Linked DNA regions of Homo sapiens: region 1 is linked to region 2. The links are contacts of gene promoters, found by promoter capture Hi-C in blood cells and fetal thymus (Javierre and others, 2016). All regions are on one chromosome and are shown on one strand. The core of a region is centred on a gene start or on the middle of the fragment in contact, and the rest is flanking DNA. Distances in the headings are between cores, read along the strand shown. Region 1 has its middle 53 kb from the start of SLFN5. Region 2 holds the start of PEX12 (peroxisomal biogenesis factor 12).

Evidence for each region. Contacts are between HindIII fragments. The CHiCAGO score rates a contact against its expected background, and 5 or more counts as called.
Region 1: a contact is called between a fragment that was not itself captured here and the fragment with the promoter of PEX12 in region 2, in 4 of 17 cell types (non-activated CD4 T cells, naive CD4 T cells, naive CD8 T cells and 1 more). The highest score is 8.1, in non-activated CD4 T cells.

The regions. Positions count from the first base shown.
Region 1 is chr17:35,292,666-35,299,465 of GRCh38, reverse strand. No RefSeq gene overlaps it. Among named protein-coding and RNA genes, the nearest start is that of SLFN5, 53 kb to the right of the region's middle. The HindIII fragment of the contact is 4,202 bases long and covers 670-4,871 here.
Region 2 is chr17:35,577,321-35,584,287 of GRCh38, reverse strand. PEX12 (peroxisomal biogenesis factor 12) reads left to right here and starts at 5,717. Exons shown (of 3, transcript NM_000286.3): 1 at 5,717-6,392; 2 at 6,697-6,967. The coding sequence starts at 6,267. RefSeq lists an enhancer at 5,638-6,453. The HindIII fragment of the contact is 3,440 bases long and covers 4,470-6,967 here.

The sequences.
Region 1 (6,800 bases), core at 1,521-4,020, 280 kb after region 2:
TATGCCATGTTAAATTAAAGGATTGGGTTATGTGCAGGAATTCCCTGCACTAGTCAGGGGGATTTTCAGAGAAAGATCCCAGGCACTGTTTGATCTGCGACAAATCAGATGTGGAGAAAGGGCATGAATGGGAGCAATGCCTTCAACCGCAGCCACTTCCTGGAGACGGAGAATGGCAGGGTGGTTTGACTGGTTGGAGCAGTTTTTGAATGGGTAACAGATGGAGAAGGAGAAGGAGCAGGGTTTGGAGCTGAAAGCTTGCGGGCAGGAGGCGTCACTGAAGTGGAGGATTCAGATAGGTTGAGGAGCAGATGCAGGGGGATAAGAATATGGAGGGGGTTCATCTGCAGGGTCAAAGGGGTTTTGGAGGAAGGAGTTTCAGAGAAAGGAGAGACCTGGGGAAGGTTATCATTAAGAAGAAAGACTTCATGAGGGGTGCAAGTTTGACACAGGGAGGGTTGGGATCTAAAGTAAAAGAAAGCCTGAATATAGGGAACCTCCTGCCATTTGCTGTTCCTAGTTATAAAGTTGTCAAGGTCCCTGAGAATTTGAAAGTCAAAGGTGCCATTTTCAGGCTACCAGCTGTCATTATCTAATTTGTATTGGGGCCAGGCCATGTTGCAATAAAAAAGCATACTCTTTGGCTTTATGCTTCCTTTAAGCCAAGCTTAGCAACATTGTGAAGGAGACAGCCCAATGGAGAGGACTTAGGAAAGTGGGATTGTTTGGCACCCATGTGGACTGGTAAGAGGAAGCTGAAGGTGTCTGTTTTTGTTCTAGGCATCCACAGATAAAAGACAGAAACCTGGAATCCTCTTTATAAAGAGGATGATCAAGCTGCGAAGAAACTGGGCATCTCCAAGATTTCTTCTAGCTTAGTCCCACTGGTCCTCTGAGGACCGGGACAGCTGACCTGACTCTCCCAGGTGCTGTGAGAAAGTCAGGAGAGGGCAGATCTTACTAGTCAGCTGGATTAGTGTCCGATGTTGGATGTTCTGATTGGAATTGGCAAAGGGCCCCTTGGACTAGAGCTTCACAAGGAAGAGAGGGAGAGAGAGACAGAGAGAGAGAGAGAGAGAGAGAGAGAGAGAGAAGAGGATGAGGGAGGAGGGAAGAGAGCAAAATACCCATTGTGGGCAGCCAGAGGTGGATTCCTAAGACCTGAGGGCTTTGAGGGTTCACTGGAGATTTGCCCCAGCCTGAGCCTCACAGTCCCCTTCAGGTTAGTTGTCCTCCTCAGACAAATTGCTAGAAAAGTGAAGTGAGAGACAAGACAAGATGGGTGGCCAGAGACTCTCAGGATCCAGCAGGATGAGCAGCTGCTGTCCACTGCTTTTTGGGTTGCAGGAGAACCTCTACCCCCAGCACCCATCCTGAGTTTTGGCAGCAAATGTAAGAGTTAAAGAAAGAGGAAAGAAACACGAAAAGTGACTCACCAGTCAAAGACAGGTTTATTTTGGAGAATAAACCTGAGAGGGGCTTCTGGCTGATTTTGGTCAGGAGCACACTCTCTTACAGATTAAGCGTATTTGTTGATTTTAGGGTGAGAGAGCTTATCATAGGCTTGGAATGTTTCTTTGTGGGGAAGAAGTTTATTGTGGGTTTGGAATGTCTCTGGTAGGAGGGGAGGTTGTCTTGGGGCTGACATCTCTCTGGGGAGGGGTTTATCTTATGGTTGAAATGTTTCTGGTCAGAGATGTCATTTATGGTTTATGGTCATGCTGGCCTTAGCCTTTAGGCTGATGCCCTGTGGATTTAGGTGGTTTTTGATTAAGGGGAACTTTAGAATGGTGGTGTTTGTCCAAGATGGTGATGCTCCTGTTCTGTCAAAGTCCCTAGGCTGCACACAGCACAGGGATCCTCTGTCCAGCCCAGGAAACTACTTTTTCCTCCTGGGCCTCCAGACCTGTGATGGGAGGGGCTGCTGTGAAGGTCTCTGACATGGCCTAAAGACATTTTCCCCATGGTCTTGGGGATTAACAGTAGGCTCCTCACTGCTTATGCAAATTTCTGCAGCTGGCTTGAATTTCTCCCCAGAAAATGGGGTTTTCTTTTCTATTGCATAGTCAGGTTGCAAACTTTCCAAACTTTTATGCTCTGCTTCTGTTATGAAATTGAATGCCTTTAACAAGTCACCTCTTGAATGCTTTGCTGCTTAGAAATTTCTTCCACCAGATACCCTAAATCATCTTTCTCAAGTTCAAAGTTTTACAAATTTCTAGGGCAGGGGCAAAATGCCACCAGCCTCTTTGCTAAAACATAACAAGATCCACCTTTACTCCAGTTCCCAACAAGCTCCTCATCTCCATCTGAGACCACCTCAGCCTAGACCTTATTGTCCATATCACTATCAGCATTTTGGTCAAAGCCATTCAACAAGTCTCTAGGAAGTTCCAAACTTTCCCACATTTTCCTGTCTTCCTCTGGGGCTTCCAAACTGTTCCAACTTCTGCCTGTTACCCAGCTCCAAAATCACTTTCACATTTTCTGGTATCTTTTCAGCAATACCCCTCTACTGGTAACAATTTACTATATTAGTCTGTTTTCATGCTGCTGATAAAGACATACCCAAGACTGGGAAGAAAAGGAGGTTTATTGGGACAGTTCCACATGGCTGGGGAAATCTCAGAATCATGGCGGGAAGTGAAGGCACTTCTTACATGGTGGTGGCAAGAGAAAATGAGCTAGAAGCAAATGAGGAAACCCCTGATAATCCCATCAGATCTCATGAGACTTATTCACTATCATGAGAATAGCATGGGAAAAGACGGCCTCCATCATTAAACTACCTCTCCCTGGGTCCCTCCCATAACATGTGGGAATTCCGGGAGATACAATTCAAGCTCAGATTTGGATGGGGACACAGCCAAACCATATCAATGACTGTACTAATTTACATTTCCTCCAACAGTGTACAAGAGTTTTCTTTTTTCCTCATCCTCTCCAACACTTGTTTTCATTCATCTTTTTTGTAATAGTCAATCTAACAGCATGAGGTGATATATTATTGTGGTTTTATTTACATTTCCCTGATCAGTAATATTGAGCATTTTTCCAAATATCTATTGGCCATTTGTGTGTATTTTGAAAAATGTGTATTCACATTGTTTGCCCAGTTTTTAATCAAGTTATTTGTTTCTTTCGATTGAGTCATTTGAATACCTTGTATATTTTGGATATTAGCCCATTTTATGCTGTATAATTTGCAAATATGTTCTCCCAATCCGTGGACTGTATCTTCACTCTGTTAATTATTTCCTTTGCTGTGCAGTAGTTTTTTTTGTTTGATGCAATACCATTTGTCTATTATTGTTTTCATTGCCTGTACTTTTGGGACCTAGCAAAGAAATCACTGCCCAGAACAAGCTCACGTTTTTTATGGTAAGAAGGAAAAGTCTATATTCTGAAAAGATGGCAGATGTTTTATTTAACCAGAAATTAACTGCCTTCAAGGACCCTTTTTTAGATTCTTTCTGAGGATCCTTGAAGGGAGTCCATTTCCTGGAAATTAACGCAGGAAATGGGAGTTTCAAGGATGGAGATTCTTTAGGCATGAGTATAGTCTAGAGGAAGATGTGACAAATCACATAATTGGGCTTCAAGCAGTGATGGCCCAGGAAGGCCTAACTGGACTCCTAAGGACTCAGCAGAACTGAAGGCATTTGAGAGCACTCACTCCTTCTGTCAGACTCTCTCCAAAGTTAAATCAAGGAGAAATATTGTTTTTTCCATTATGCTGATGCAGCCTGACCACTGTGAGGACTGTGGGACTTTACAAGGATGGTGTTAAAAGTAGAGGTAAACAGCAAGATTTCACAATCATGCAAAGGAAAGAAAAGGGCGCTATAAAAATATATTAACTAACCAGCCAAGGAAAGGGAAAGGGGAGAAAAACAAGAAAATTCAGTGTTGCAAAAGTGATAATTTGCAACTGACAATGTTTGCTCTGATTCTGTTTTTCTACCCTGCCCCTGCCTCTGCCTCTCTTGGCCTCTCCAAGACCTGACACAATGCCCGCCCCGCCCGTCCCATCCTTCATATCCACACTCAATCACAGTGTGAATGTCAAGACTGAGAAGAACCTGCCCTAGGGTTTCACATGGCAGCTTTTTGCTCACTGAGGCCTCCCTGACTTCCCAGTCTAATGTACCAACTCCTCTTACCAGACAGACAAACCAGACAGACACACATTCACAGATACCGAGAGCCTTTCTGTTGTACTGCCTTGCTTTACAACCCTATTATCCCTTTTCATGCTCTGCCATTCCGTGTACTCATGTTTGTTCACATATTCCAGAACTTTCCTGTCATGTCTGCCTCTGGACTCCCAGCACTTAGATCTACTAGTTTCATACACAGGCTGGGGTAGGAGCCTGTGTATGAAACTTCTTAGATGGAAAGCCTTCCAATCAGTTATCACCCTTTAGAATATACAGTTGTGTCTCACCCTGGAGGCTGGAAAGAGTTGAAGGTTCTGTGCAACAGTTGTTTCAGCTGCTCTTGGAGGGGTCAGAAATGTGACCTGCATCTTTGCCAACATATGTTATTTTTTGACTTTTTAGTAATAACCATTCGGACTCATGTAAGATGATATCTCATTGTGGTTTTCATTTGCATTTATCTGACAATTAGTGATGCTGAAAATTTTTTTATATGCTTGTTGGTCATTTGTATGTCTTCTTTAAAAAAATGTCTATTCAAATCCTTTGCCCACTTTTGTTGTTGTTGCTGTTATTGTTGTTGAAGTTTGAGTTTTTCACAAATTCTGGATGCCAGTCCCCTGTTGAATGGTTGAATGGATAGTTTGCAAATATTTTCTCCCATTCTGCAGGTCTGTTCACTCTATTGATTTTTTTTTCTGTGCAGAAGCTTTTTAGTTTAAGTCCCATTTGTCTATTTTTGTTTTTGTTGCTTGTGATTTTGAGGCCTTAGTCATAAATTCGTTGCCTAGATCAATGTCCACAAGAGTTTTACCTAGGTTTTCTTCTAGAATTTTTATAGTTTCACGTCTTATAATTGAGTCTTTAATCCATCTTGTATATCGTGAGAGATAGGAGTCCAGTTGCATTCTTCTGGATGTGGCAATCCAATTTCCCCACCATCATTTATTGAAAAGGGGATCCTTTCCCCAGTGTATGTTTTTGTCAACTTTGCCAAAGATCAGTTGGCTGTATGTGTGTGGCTTTATTTCTGAGTTCTCTGTTCCATTAATCTATATGTCTATTTTTGTACCAGTACCATGGTGTTTTGCTTACCATAGCCTTGTAGTATAGTTTGAGATCAGGTAATGTGTTGCTTCCGAGTTTGTTCTTTTTGCTTAGGATTGCTTTAGCCATTTGGGCTCTTTTTTGGTTCCAAGTGAATTTTAAGATTGTTTTTTTCCAACTCTGCGAAAAACAACATTGGTATTTTGATAGATATTGCATTGAATCTGTAGATTGCTTTGTGCAGTATGGTCATGTTAATGACATTAATTCTTCTGATCCATGAGAATAAGATGCTTTTCCATTTGTTTGTGTCATCTACAACTGCTTTCATCAGTGTTTTGTAGTTTTCCTTGTAAAGATCTTTTATCTCCTTGGTTAAATATATTCCTGGGCATTTTATTTTATTTTACTTCATTTTTTGTAGCTATGTTAAATGGGATTGCCTTCTTGATTTGGTTCTCTGCTTGATCATTATTAATGCAGAGAAATGCTAATGACTTTTGTACACTGATTTCGTATTGTGAAACTTTACTGAATTCATTTATCAGATCTAGAGCTTTTTGGAGAAGTCTTTAGCAATTTCTAGATATAAGGTTATATTGCCAGTGAACAGAGATAATTTGACTTCCTCTTTTCCAAGTTGGATACCTTTTATTTCTTTCTCTTGCCTGATTGCCCTATGAGTTCAGCACTATGTTGAATAGGAGTGGTGAGAATGAACATCCTTGTCTTGCTCCAGTTCTTAGAGGGAATGCTTGCAACTTTTTCCTATTCAGTATGATGCTGGCTGTGGGTTTGTTGTATAGGGCCTTTATTATTTTAAGGTAGTTCTTCTGAAGTTTGTTGAAGATTTGTATCATGAAAGGGTGCTGACTTTTATCAAATGCTTTTTCTGCATCTATTGAGATGATTCATGAAGAATTTTTGTATCACTGCCTGGCAGATGTTTTTCATTCTGTTAAAATTTTTAGAAACCAAGTCATGCTTTCCCAGTTAACAAAGAAGCAAAGTTAAATACTAAACTGCAATGTATTGAGAATATGTAACATTACTTTTACCAATGAAACCAGAAAGAATCCCTCTCTAAGTTATTTAGGAAAATGAAATGGATAGCAAATAAGTAATAATATTTATTTGCTATCATCGCAGTCAAATTGCTTACCTAATAAATTTACTCAAAAGCAAATTTCCACAAATGCCAAGAATGTTGCCACAGTAAAGCACATTCTTAATCTTTTCCATGATCTTCATAGTCACAACTACATCAGGTAAGCCACAAATTCTTCATTTGTCTTGGAGCAAGTCTTTAAAGGCAATTCCTGCTGTTTATTTAAGAGTAGATTTATACCTCAGATCCCAACTGGCCACATAAGAATTTTCTAAACCCAAACAAGGCTATCACAGGGAACATTAGCATAGCTTCGTGTTTTAGGTGGCTGTAAGCTGATAAGACTCAAGATAAATTATTTGCAAGTCTGAACCACTGAGGAGCTGTGTGTTTCTCTCAGATCCCAGAGTGAAGACCATAATCAAGACACATACACTTCCATGTTTCATTCATGTTCACTAACTTTACTAGCGTGCGTGGGATGG
Region 2 (6,967 bases), core at 4,468-6,967:
AGGAGTTGCAGATAACTCATAAGAAAGTATGACCAAAGAAAGCAGAAATGGTATCTGAGGAAAACAGTGGCAAGGATTTTTTCTTTCTTGAGGCAGGGTGTTGCACTGTTGCCCAGGCTGGAGTGCAGTGGTGCCATTACAATTCACTGCAGCCTTGACCTCCCAGGCTCAAGCAATCCTCCTACCTAGCCTCCCAAGTAGCTGCGACTACAGGCATGTGTCACCACGCCTAGCTAATTTTCTTTTTTTGTAGAGAGGGGGTCTTGCCATGTTGCCCAGGCTGGTCTGCAACTCCTGGGCTCAAGTGATCCTCCTGCCTTGGCCTCCCCAAATGCTGGGATTATAGGCATGAGCCACCAAACTCAGCCAATTTTTTCAAGTTTAGTTCTATACTCATACATTTTCTCTACACTAACCCTTTAGCATACCATGGTTTTAATTATCTTTCTTACATATATGGCTCCAAAATCTCTTATCTCTAGCCTAGACCTATTCCCCAAATTTCATCACCAAATCGATAACTATACTGCTGGGTTAAATCATAAGGAATGGAGGAGGTTAGAAAAACCTGGTTACAGAGTTGGGCACAGCAGTTTACACCTATGATCCCAGCACTTTGGGAGGCTGAGGTGGGAGGATCACTTGAGCCCAAGAGTTTGAGGCTGTAGTGAGCCATGATCATGCCACTGCACTCCAGCCTGGGTGACAGAGTGAGACCGTCTCTAAAAAGAAAGAGAGAGAGAGAGAGAGAGAGAGAGAGAGAGAGAGAGAGAAAAAACTCGTTCAAGGTACAACTGCTAGCAGACAGAGGTAGATTTCGTAAAGATGTCATTAGAAAAATCTTCAAGAGGCTGGCCGTGGTGGCTCACGCCTGTGATCACAGCACTTTGGGAGGCCAAGGCAGGTGGATCACCTGAGGTCAGGACTTTGAGCCCAGCCTGGCCAACATGGTAAAACCCTGACTCTACTAAAAATACAAAAATTAGCCAGGCATGGTGGCACATGCCTGTAGTCTCAGGTACTAGGGAGGCTGAGGCAGGAGAATTACTTGAACCTGAGAGGAGGAGGTTGCAGTGAGCCGAAATCACACCACTACACTGCAGCCTGGGCAATAAAGTAAGACTCCATCTCAAAAAAAAAAAAAAAAAAAAAAAAAAAAAAAAAAAAAAAAAGGAAAAGGAAAAAAAAAGAAAAAGAAAAATATTTAAGAGCTTTGATTCATACCTCTCTGCTGTTCAAAAACTTTCATCAACTTCTCATTGCCTAACATGTTTGAAAGCTATTCTTCCCCCAGTTTCCTCCATCTATGTGCTTTCTTTGGTTTTCTCATCTATAAAATGGAGGAAGATAGTAACATCTAATCATAATATTGAACAATGAAATAAATTAAATGTAAAGCACTTAGAACTATGGCTGGCATATAGCATGGACTATGGAACTATTTCCTGTAATTGTGATTATTTTAATAAATTGCACTGAGCTGCTCAAGCCAGAAACCTAGGGGTCATTCCTGATTTCCCTTTCCTTCAACTGCCACATCCAATCCATCTCCAGTTGTCAATTCTACCTTTAAAATCTCAAAGCCGTAGCTGGGCGCTGTGGCTCACACCTGTAATCCCAGCACTTTGGGAGGCCAAGGCAGGTGGATCACAAAGTCAGGAGTTCGTGACCAGCCTGGCCAAGATGATGAAACCCCGTCTCTACTAAAATTAGCCAGGCGTTGTGGTGGGCGCCTGTAATCTCAGCTACTCGGGAGGCTGAGGTACAGAACTGCTTGAACCCGGGAGGCAGAGGTTGCAGTGAGCCGAGATTGCGCCACTGCACTCCATCCTGGGCAACAGAGCAAGACTGTCTCAAAAAAAAAAAAAAAAAAAAAAAAAACAACAACTCCAAGCCATCCAACTCCCTCTATTCAATCTCATAAATCCACCATCACCTTTTGCCTAGACTATTAGAAGGCTATAAGTCTTCTCTCTACCATTCTCCACGTAGTGGCCAGGTTGTTTAACTTTTTTGGATGTATAACATACATTTAAAAATGTGCATATCTGGCCTGATGTGGTGGCTCACACCCGTAATCCCAGCACTTTGGGAGGCTGAGGCAGGGGGATCACTTGAGGCCAGGAGTTTGAGACCAGCCTGGCCAACATGGCAAAACCCTGTCTCTACTAAAAATACAAAAATTAGCCGGGTGTGGTGGCACATGCATGTAGTCCCAGCTACTCCGGGGGGTCTGAGGTGGGAGAATCACTTGAACCCGGGAGGTGGAGGTTGCAGTGAGCCGAGACTGTGCCACTGCACTCCAGCCTGGGCTACAGAGCCAGACTCTATCTCAAGAAAACAAAAACAAAAACAAAAATGTGCATATATCATAAATGTAAAGCTTGATATAAATACTGCATACCCACAAAACCATCAGAGACATCTTTAAAAAAATATAAACCTGGCCAGGCACGGTGGCTCACGCCTGTAATCCTAGCACTTTGGGAGGCCAAGGTGGGCAGATCACAAGGCCAGGAGTTCAAGACCAGCCTGGCCAACATGGTGAAACCCCATCTCTACTAAAAATACAAAAATTAGCCGGGCATGTTGGCGGGCGCCTGTAATCCCAGCTACTTGGGAGGCCGTGGCAGGAGAATCGCTTGAACACAGGAGGCGGCGGTTGCAGTGAGTCATCATGCCATTGCACTCCAGCCTGGGCAACAAGAGTAAAACTCTGTTTCAAAAAAAAAAAAATATATATATATATATTTTTTAATATATGTATATATACACAAATATATATACAAATATATAATATATACAAATATATAAATATATATTATATATTTATATATTTTATTTATTATATATTATATATATTTGTATATATTATATATTTGTATATATATTTTTATATATATTTGTATATATATTTTATATATATTTGTATATATATTATATATATTTGTATATATTATATATATATTTGTATATATATATATATATATATATATATATATATATATATATATTTGTTTATATATATACCTGATCACACATCTCTGGTGTGTGAATCCTTCATTGGCTTCCCATTGCACTTGGGCTAAAATCCAGGGTTGTTCCCATGGCCTGTGAGTCCCTGCATGGTTTGGCCTGTCTACCTCTCTAACATCATTTTGTGCTTTTCAGTTACTGCTCATTTCCTCATCATTTCACCTTTTGCCAGTTATAATAGCCCTCAAACACACCAAGCTCTTTCCCACCTTAGGGTCTTCACAATACTCTTCCTTCTGCCTAATATTCTTTTCCCCAACTCCTCATATGGCTGGCTCCTCATAATTTAGGCCTTTGTTATGTCCTCAGAAGGGCATTCCGATTATCACGTCTAAAAGATTTGGGCCTCCCAGACCTCTTATTCGAGTTGCAAATTTCTGTTTTCTTTTTTTTTTTGAGACAGAGTCTCACTCTGTCCCCCAGGCTGGAGTGCAGTGGTGTGACCTCGGCTCACTGCAACCTCCACCTCCCGGGTTCAAGTGATTCTCCTGCCTCAGCCTCCAGAGTAGCTGGGATAACAGACATCCACCACCATGCACCATCATTCCAAGCTAATTTTTGTATTTTTAGTAGAGATGGGTTTTCACCATGTCGGCTGGGCCGGTCTCAAACTCCTGACTTCGTGATCCACCCGTCTCAGCCTCCCAAAGTGCTGGGATTACAGGTATGAGCCACCATACCAGGCCCTACCTTTCCTTTTTCTTTTCTTTTTTCTGGAGATGGAGTCTCGCTCAGTTACCCAGGCTGGAGTGCAATGGTGCAATCTCGGCTCACCACAACCTCCGCTTCCAGGGTTCAAGCGATTCTCCTGCCTCAGCCTCCCGAGTAGCTGGGATTACAGGTATGTGCCACCACACCCAGCTAATTTTTTGTATTTCTAGTACAGACTGGGTTTCTCCATGTTGGTCAGGCTGGTCATGACCTCTTGACCTCAGGTGATCCACCCGCCTCGGCCTCCCAAAGTGCTGGGATTATAGGCGTTCTTATGCCATACGTTTAGTTAACTTTTGGAGTACTTCCATGGGACTATCAATCAAGACATCCTGCCTTCCCCTGGCTAAGAGTGAAAGACAGGGTGGAGAGGGAACTTGAACCAAGAGAGGTCAGTCAAAATTTGTATCACGAGCAGAGTCACAAACAGAAATTGGTGGAAGCTCGTTCACTGCAACAACGTTGCCTGGATAAGAACTTCTAATTCCTGTTAGGCAGTCCCAATAGTATTGTTAAGTTCCTGTTCTTTCAGGGCTGGCTTTACTTATTTTGTGAGCTACTCCATACACTTCTAATAAATTCCGTTTTAGTTTAAATTAGCCTGTTTGTTTCTGTTGCTTGTAACCAAAGATCCCTAAGTGACAAAAATGTTTAATTTCCTGCTTGATTTAGTTGATGCTACCTCTCAACTTTGTATTTTTGCTATTCACTTAAGAAAAGCTTGTACATAACAGTTACTATTAAACAAGCACCTAATATGTATCCAGGTGCTTCATATGGATAAACTATGTCTAGTCTTAAAACTCTGTAAGGTAAAAATCATATATCAATATAATGTCTTTTGGTAGAGTAAAAAACACTTTTTATAACTATAATTAAGGACAATTTGTAAGGTTTTCTCTCCTATTGGAATAACTAAATCCAAACCTTGTTTTTGAGGGTTCTCATTATGCAAACCAATTATTTTTATAACATAAGGGCCTCTAGGGCAGTAAACAATACCTTCTATTCCCAGCTATTTAGCCCAGAGGTGGCACTTCCCAGAGGAAGGGAGGAGAGGTGGAACTCTCATCCAAATTCAATAAGGCTGTGTCAGCCAACTTCAGCGAGACAAAGCTGTACATAACATAAAAGCACTTTACAAACCTTAAGGTAAATCACATTCATTTTGGTATAAAAACGGCATGAAAGGAAACTTTCTGTCAAGTGTCCCCAGTGCATGCTAGTTACAATTCATAAAGCTCCCTCTGCGTTAGTACTGTATTCATATCGCTGGTGGTGACATATACAACTGTGTTCAAGGATGGAGACCATTTTCATCCAGTATAGCAAGTGCATGCAGTTATGCTTGAATATAGCCAAAACCTGGAAGACGTTAAACTACCAGCTTGGATGAAAATTAACCGTCTCAAGTACTGAGGAACAAGCATGAACCTTTCTCAATCCAATCATCTTTCCTTATAATTGGCGGCAATAAATCTAAGGCTCCTATCTCCTGCTATGTCGCTTTAAATCATTTCTGGAAGGCTAAGACATATAAATTAACCACCATCCCTGCCGCACGCGTACAGCAAAGTCCTTTCCACCTCCAGATTCCCTTCCTCCCACCGCCCCTAGCTTCATCGCCTGCAGGAACACAGGGCTCAGCAACGGGCCCGAGCTCTGGCTCCCGGCGCCAGACGTCTGCGCGGTGCCCCAAACAGCTTGTCAAAAAGACCTCGCAGAGAGAGGTTCAGAGCTGTAGCTTTCCAGCGAGGCTACCATGCAGACCCAGCTACGAAAAGTAAACCAAACTAGCCAAAACCAGCCCACAAGGGCCCTCTTCTGTTTCAGCGGGGCGGGAGCGGAAGCTCAGGTGGGTCATAGAGTTCTCTAGTTCTGGTTTCCGGACCGCATTCGGAACTAGAGCGCCTCTCTTCCGCCAGGCATCCCAGAGGTCCTGGTGGTTTCATTTCCGGGTGCGGCTTCTGTCATAAAGCGGAGACCTCCCTTCAAACGTGGCGTCGTGGGTTGTTTGCGCCTCGCCTGGGGTCAGCGAGCAAGGACGGGCGCGGGCGGGGATACTCAAAGCCAACAGCTGGAGTCAGCCCTTGTGTCCCGGGCTCACAGTGGCACGACTGAATCCTCAGAGTCGGCTGGCTTTTGAGCTCTCACGATTGGGGAGGAGGGGGCGTTTCTGGTTCGCAGCTCCAGAGGATTGCGTTCCTTCCCCCATACCTGTCCCCCACAGTCACGCTCTGCCCTGACGTGCAGCATTTGACAAGTTACCCCCTCGCCACATACTACTTCCACCCACGTCCGAGTTAACTTTGTTCTTAACCTTCTTGAGACTACCCTCGGCCTCCAGGTCTTTTTTTCCCAGTTCATTTTTGCCCATAAGATTGAGTTTCGAGTTTCAGATATCATGCAGAAAGTTTACCTTTAAGACTGAGCACCCATCTGATACTCTTCCTCCCGAAAAAGTTCATGCTCACGAGAGAGTTTGTGGGAAAAGTGAAAGCCAGTACACGCAGGAAACTATGGCTGAGCACGGGGCTCACTTCACAGCTGCTTCTGTGGCCGATGACCAGCCATCCATCTTTGAGGTGGTAGCACAGGACAGTTTAATGACAGCAGTGAGACCCGCTCTTCAGCATGTGGTCAAGGTAAGGTATTAATTCTTGGAAAGGTTTTAGGGACAACTGGGTAAAAAACAAACGAATAATTTGTGCTTATTTGGTAGCCTAGCGTTTGAAATAGCCAATTTGCAAATAACTTGTATCCCATGACTTAAGAGTTACTGAGTCTCTGTTATGTGTAGAGACCTGTACTGAATACCCAGCATTTCAGGGTCCAACAGTGACTTATTTAAAACAAATTGTGTAGACTTTAGAGGAAAAGGGGGAATGTAAATAGGTGTAGAACTTGTGTAATGGAATGAATTTCACTTATTGCTTTATTTTGCTTTAGGTTCTTGCAGAATCAAATCCCACCCACTATGGCTTCTTGTGGAGGTGGTTTGATGAAATCTTTACTCTGCTAGATCTTCTGCTCCAGCAACATTATCTGTCTAGAACCAGTGCCTCATTTTCTGAAAACTTTTACGGCTTAAAGAGAATTGTAATGGGGGACACTCACAAGTCTCAGAGATTGGCTAGTGCTGGTCTCCCAAAGCAGCAGCTTTGGAAATCTATTATGTTCCTGGTTCTTCTTCCCTATCTGAAAGTGAAGCTGGAGAAGC